Linked DNA regions of Homo sapiens: region 2 is linked to region 1. Evidence: promoter capture Hi-C in human tissues and cell types (Jung and others, 2019). All regions are on one chromosome and are shown on one strand. The core of a region is centred on a gene start or on the middle of the fragment in contact, and the rest is flanking DNA. Distances in the headings are between cores, read along the strand shown. Region 1 holds the start of ATP8B1 (ATPase phospholipid transporting 8B1). Region 2 has its middle 3.9 kb from the start of NEDD4L.

What was found. The method cuts DNA at HindIII sites, captures the fragments that hold promoters and counts their contacts. A contact is called where the count stands out against the background at its distance.
Region 2: a contact is called between a fragment that was not itself captured here and the fragment with the promoter of ATP8B1 in region 1, in 1 of the 25 tissues and cell types used here (IMR-90 fibroblasts).

Annotation. Positions count from the first base shown.
Region 1 is chr18:57,801,833-57,805,033 of GRCh38, forward strand. It overlaps ATP8B1 (ATPase phospholipid transporting 8B1), which reads right to left and starts at 1,483. Exons shown (of 28, transcript NM_001374385.1): 1 at 1,166-1,483. RefSeq lists an enhancer at 1,103-1,740. The HindIII fragment of the contact is 14,543 bases long and covers 1-3,201 here.
Region 2 is chr18:58,038,760-58,041,960 of GRCh38, forward strand. No RefSeq gene overlaps it. Among named protein-coding and RNA genes, the nearest start is that of NEDD4L, 3.9 kb to the right of the region's middle. RefSeq lists a cis regulatory region at 2,860-3,201. The HindIII fragment of the contact is 4,161 bases long and covers 1-3,201 here.

The DNA.
Region 1 (3,201 bases), core at 233-2,732:
GAACTCGGCGGCGTCTGGAGCTACCCAGGAAGAGCTTGCAGCCCCCAAGGGCAGCGCGTGCAGGCCAAGGGGGTCGGGTAGGGTTGAGCGGGTACTCACCGGGCAGAAGCGCGGCCCAAGTCCTCCTTACTTCTGCGTGTCAATCCCCCTTCCCCAATTTGCATCCTTACTGCAATCCAGTCTCCCCCGTACAACCGTCACGGATCTGCGCTCCGAGCACCGCCCCCCCCCGCAACCAGCCACCAACCCCCGGCAGGGACCACAGGCACACGCCTCCGTCGGAAAAGTTGGGCAGACACTTCAGAACTTTTCTTTCACTTTGGGGAGAAGGAGGGAGTTGGAGAAGTGGGGGCGAGGGGTGTTAAAGCACTGGGCCATTCTCTGCAACATCTCCCCGCGCCCCCCAACAAGTTGCCCCTCCTCGTGCACACAGCGAGGTGACAGCGCAGGGCACCAAACTGCTGAGGGAAGGAGATGCCTGCAGCCATCTCAGCGGGGCTGGCGGACGCGACCCGACAGTCACCGGAAAAACAGTGGTGTCGGTCTTCCCCATCACCTCCCCTCCCCATCCCACAATAAAGCGCACGGAAGATGTCTGGGAGTACCTGGCCCTGCCACAGGAGCTGGGGAGGAGAGCGATCTCACCCCCTCCATCCCTCCCGGCAGGTGGGCCGCGGTCAGATACGTTTGGCCCGCAAGTCCTTTTCGGACACGTTGGCATCTGCTCCCAAAGAGCGCCCCAGCAGGACCCGGTCACCGGGGTCTTCCAGAGGGGCGGTAGCCACCGCACAGGAGCCAGCGGCATCCCCCAAGGAGCCGCAAGCCCTACCTGGCTTAACCCCCGGACATGTGTGTCGCTACCGATCGAAGAACCCAAACACCCCGAGATTTCCCTCCTCTAGGCAGGTGAAAACCCCACGGAACTCTCCGCAGCGCTGCCTGCCCAGCCGGCCGTGTCTCGCCGTCCCCGAGGCCTCGGGGGCTCCCAGCACCTCCACCCAAATCCCACCTGTGCGGGCTCGGGAGTCCGAGGGCGCTGACAGCTGCTGCCGCCGCATCCCGGATCTCCAAAGTGCGGCGGGAGCGGCCAGGGAACCTGCAGGACACCGCCGGGCCAAGGGGCTTGGGAAGGTCTGGGGGCCCCCGGCGCCGCACCCCTGCTTACCTGGCGTTCGCTGGGCCCCGGCTGGGGCATCCGCCTGGTGCGCGCCGCTCGGAGCGCTCGCTGCGCACCTGGCCGCTGCCGCCGCCCGCCCGGCCCCAGCCCTGGCCGCCGCGCTAGCGCTGCATGGCGCACGGGGGCTGGCCGGGGGCCCGGGGAAGCGTGTCTAGTTGGCGGCGGCACCTCCGGCTCTCGCGGCTCGCTAGTGGCTCCCCCGCCTTTCCCCGCCCCGCGTCCGTGCACCCTTCCTCTGCAGCCGCCCTTTTGCCTCCGCTCCGCCGGACCGGCCAAACTGGTTTCTCCGCTCGGGGAGGTGCCTCTGGTTTCCCTCCAGCAGCCGCGGCCGCCGAGCCTCGCTGGGGCTGGGGCTGGGGCTGGAGGCGGGCTCGGCCTTCTCCCCTCCCTTTTTCCCTCCCTAGGGCGGAGAGGGGCTGGACTGCAAGCCCCGGGGCGGCCCGAGGCGGCCCAGGTCCAGCTCCTGCCCCACGCCCTCCGTGCGTCCTGGAGTCAGGTGGGCACCCCTTTCAGTCTTCCGAGCCCAGCCTACGAGCCCTTGCCTCGCCCAGCCTGAGACCCAGTTGCTGCGGCTGCTCTTAGCTCCCCGGGGGCCGCACTCGCCACCACACCTCTCCAGCCCAGCGTCACTTTCCCGCTGCCCTTGGCTGGCTTGGCCGTCACCCCGGGTCGAGGACTGAGCCAGCCTGGAAAGCTGGCGGGGCCGCGGCGCGCCCGGGACCTGAGCTCCCTCGGTAAGGGGAGCTGTGTCCTCTTGATGCCAAGTCATGTTTGGGGACCGGTCACCGAATGCGCGTCAAAGTTCGCCGCGTGGAGGGTGAAGAAAGAGGCTGCGCCTCAAGACTTCCAGAAACGTATCCTGTGATTGCAGCCAGCAGGCTTTCTGCCGAGTCCAAACGCTATCGAGTTTTTTTGGGTTTGGAGTCAAAAGGAGTTAAGGTGCGGCCCGTGAACCACGCGGTGTAGGTGGAAATTTTGGACTCAGCGCCTCGTTGCTGGCTGGTGTCTGAGCGGGTGAATCGTGCCTCCCTGGCAGTATAGACATTACCCTCCTTCTTGAGTAGACTTTTGCCGCTCCCCGACTATGGACCGAGTCGTTGGGATAAGAATGGAGGAAAATCAAAGATCAGAGTTTGCTTAAAATGCAGTAGGGGAGCCAGGACTCCCACACGATTCCCAGTCACCTAGAGGCTCACATCTATGCCCAAGAGTCCAGACTCCCAACTGGGTCATCACAGAGGCTTCCTACAGGAGGCCGTGCTTGATGGGACTCAAAGATCCACAGCTTTAAGGATCAGAGTTGTGTAGAGAGGGTATTCAACGGGTGGCCAACTGGTAGAATCTTGTCTGATACCAACCCCGAGGCTGCTCTAGGCTTCTTTTTCATGAGTCAAACTTGATCTCTGACTAGGTGCTGGTCAGTCACTCAATCTATCCAGGCCTCAGTTTCCTCATTTGTAAAATGAGATTGGACCAGATGGTCTCTTCCAGCACTTATATTCTGAAGCTAACGACAGAACAAAGGTACCGATGCAAGAGAACATAGGGCCTGTTGGTGACACTGGTTGATCTAAGACATTTAGACTTGTTTTTGGTAGCACCTGCAAACCGTTGACAATTTAGGACCGAGCATGAGCATGATCAAGGTTGTGTTTTAGGGAAAATAATAGGGAGATAGTCTAGAGAGGATAAAACTGAAGATGGGAGAATCACTTGAGAGGCTGGGACAGCGACATACGGAGGAGTTGCCAGGGGAAGTAAAAAGGAGGAAATTCAAGGGACACCACAGAAGAGAGATAGGGCACGAAGTGGCCACAACCTGCAACTGACTGGGAGAGGGGAGCAATGGAAGGTGAGCCAGGTTCTCAAGACTGGGTTATGGCATGCAAGGAGCAGCAGACTCCAAAGGAGGGAAGCCGTTTAGGAAGACTCTGCCCCTATCTGGATAAATGCCAGCAAACCTAGGAATCAAGAGGGGATTCCAGACTAAAGGGGGCACCCCCTCCTTGCAGATCCACTACCAA
Region 2 (3,201 bases), core at 471-2,970, 240 kb after region 1:
ATTTCTTTAAAAGCTTAGCTATTGATATGATTTGGATGTTTGTTCCCTCCAAATCTCTTGTTGAAATGTGATTTGCAATGTTGGAAGTGGGGCCTGGTGGAAGGTGACTGGATCATGACGGCGGGTCCCTCATGAACGGCTTAGCACCATCACCTTGGTGATAAGTGAGTTCTAGCTCAGTTAGTTCATGTGAGATCTGGTTGTTTAAAAGTGTGTGGCACCTCCCAACCCACTCTTGCTCTTGCTCTCACCATGTGACGTGATGGCTGCCCATCGCCTTCCACCAATGATTGTGAGCTTCCTGAGGCCTCCCCAGAAGCAAATGCCAGCACCATGCTTCCTGTACAGCCCACAGAACCGTGAGCCCATTAAACCTCTTTTCTTTATAAATTACCCAGCCTCAGGTGTTTCTTTTCTTTCTTTCCTTTCTTTCTTCCTTTCTTTCTCTTTCTTTCTTTTTTCAGGGTCTGGCTCTTTTGCCCAGACTGGAGTGCAGTGGTGTGATCTCGGCACACCTCAGCCTCAACCTCCCAGGCTCAAGGGACCCTCCTGCCTCAGCTCCTTGAGTAGCTGAGACTACAGGCGCAAGCCACCAGGCCCAGCGAATTCTTGTATTTTTTGTTTTTAGAGATGAGGTCTCACTTTGTTGCCCAGCTGGTCTCGAACTCCTGGACTCAAGGGATCTGTCCACTTCAGCCTCCCAAAGTGTTGGGATTACAGGTGTGAGCCACTGTGCTTGGCCTCAGGCATTTCTTCATTAATAGCATTGCAAGAATGGCCTAATGTAGCTATTTTTATACAAAAAGATGAGCTATTTACAAGTCATTCTTTGCTACCCACCTCTATATTTGTCAAAAATTTGAAGCATAATATAGATTTCTTATATGATCATAAACGGCTTAAATTTGTTACATTTCTGTGTGTCAAGGAATGGTGCTGAGTTCCAAGATGATACCAGTTTTTACAGGTTTGTGGCCATCTTCGAAATGTCTGCTTAATAGGCCTTCTTTTTAAAGAAGACAAATCATCACTGAAAATTGAAGAGAAAAATCGAGTGTTATTTATATGAAACTTAAACATGTGACATTATGTATTCTTCTTCTTTGGGTACTTCCCAGATGTGATTATGATCTACATAGTTTTGCTAAGACAACTCAATAATTTGTAAAGAGGCTTAGCATTAAAATGTTCCCTATTTGTGATTACCCATTGTACTTTAAAATTGTTCCTGCTAATTTTTCATTTCTGATGATCCAAGTGAAGAGTATTTGCCAAACACCCACAGTATCAAATCTAAGATGCTAAAGGCAGCCTGCAAAGGGAACAAAGGGAAACGAATTCTAGAGGAGACTCTACAAGTTAAGGTTCTATGTAATTGTTGGGTAGATGCAAAACGGACTGGAGGAAACATTGCTTTTGATACACCTGCTGAATAGTTCCCTTTAAGGGTTGTCCTCCCTCACCCCCAAAGAAATTGGATTACTAGGTTGGGCTAGGTGGCTCATGTCTGTAATCCCAGCACTTTGGGAGGCCGAGGCAGGTGGATCACGAGGTCAGGAGATCGAGACCATCCTGACTAACAAGGTGAAACCCCGTCTCTACTAAAAATACAAAAAATTAGCCGGGCGTGGTGGCGGGCGCCTGTAGTCCCAGCTGCTTGGGAGGCTGAGGCAGGAGAATGCCGTGAACCCAGGAGGCGGAGCTTGCAGTGAGCCGAGATCACGCCACTGCACTCCAGCCTGGGCAGCAGAGCGAGACTCCATCTCAAAAAAAAAAAAAAAAAAAAAGAAAGAAAGAAAAGAAATTGGATTACTAATCTGAGACTTCAGAGTAGATGATGGGTAAACTGATTGATGATGCTAGTCTTCTAAGTATGTTTGTTTATATTCTACCTCACTCCACAAAAGATTTGAGTGTGTTTATAACATGCAATTTCCTCTAAGTTGAAAAAAAACGAATGAAAAAACAGAGTGGTGGAAAATATATAAAGAAAAGGCATATAGGCTGGGCTCAGTAGCTCATGCCTGTAATCCTAACACTTTGGGAGGCCAAGGTGGGAGGATCACTTGAAGCCTAGAATTCGAGACCAGCCTGGGCAAGGGAGACCCCATCTCTACAAAAAACAAAAAACCTTAGCCGGTACAATGGTGTGCTCCTGTAGTCCCAGCTACTTGGGAGGCTGAGGTGGGAGGATCACTTGAGTCCTGGAGTTTGAGGGTACAGTGTGCTGTGATCATGCCACTGTTCTCCAGTCTGGACAACAGAGCAAGAACTTGTCTCTCGGGGAAAAGGAAAAGAAAAAGAAAAAAAAAAAGAATAGTAATATAAATCTAGGCCAGATGTCTCTAAACTTGGCAGTGGTGCATTAGGATCACCTGGGGAACTTTTAAAGCTCCTGATGCCCATGTGGCACCCTGTACTAATTAAATCATAACGCCTGGGAGTGGGAGGCAGAGAGGAGCAGTAGTAAAAATTCCCAAATGTTTCTATGTATAGCAAAATTTGGAAACTAAGCTGATGTTCTCAGCCTTAAATGCACATTAGCATCACCTGGGAGGCTGTTGAAACTACTGATGTCAGAATCCATTAAATCATAGCCTCTGATGCTGGTTACCGGGCACTTAGTCTATTTGAAAGCTCCCCAGGTGATTGCAATGTACATGCTGAGTAGAGAACCACAGCACTGGGGGAAAGTTGGTATATAGTTACAAAAGGGATTTTTTTTAATGGGTTCTTTTATGGCTTAAGACCATGAAACTGGTTCTGAGCTTCCTGGTGGCCAAAGTAGATAGAAAAACACAGTCGGTTTTAATAATTTTGGTCATCTGCCATGCAAAAGCTTACCAGTTTCTTGAAAGCAAAAGAGCTTTTCTTCATAGATCTGAAATAAATGTCTAGTTTATTAGTCTTCTCACAGAGGATGTTGATGTCATGGATCACGATTTTATAAACACCCCACAATAAGTGACATATGGCAAGTTTCATATTATAGTTCCTAATAACCATCCCTCAGGGAAAGACAAGGACATGACCCTGAGTGCAGGGCTATAGGCTGTTGCGGTGGGTGTGTGGGAGTAGATGATAAAAGACAGGAAGAGAAACTGCCACACCCCTCTACAGTTTCCAGATAACATAGCCTTACCCAAAGGCGAAGCCTGGAATTGTGTACCTCCAGGATGTGGAAGGCGTGTCCTGTGTAAT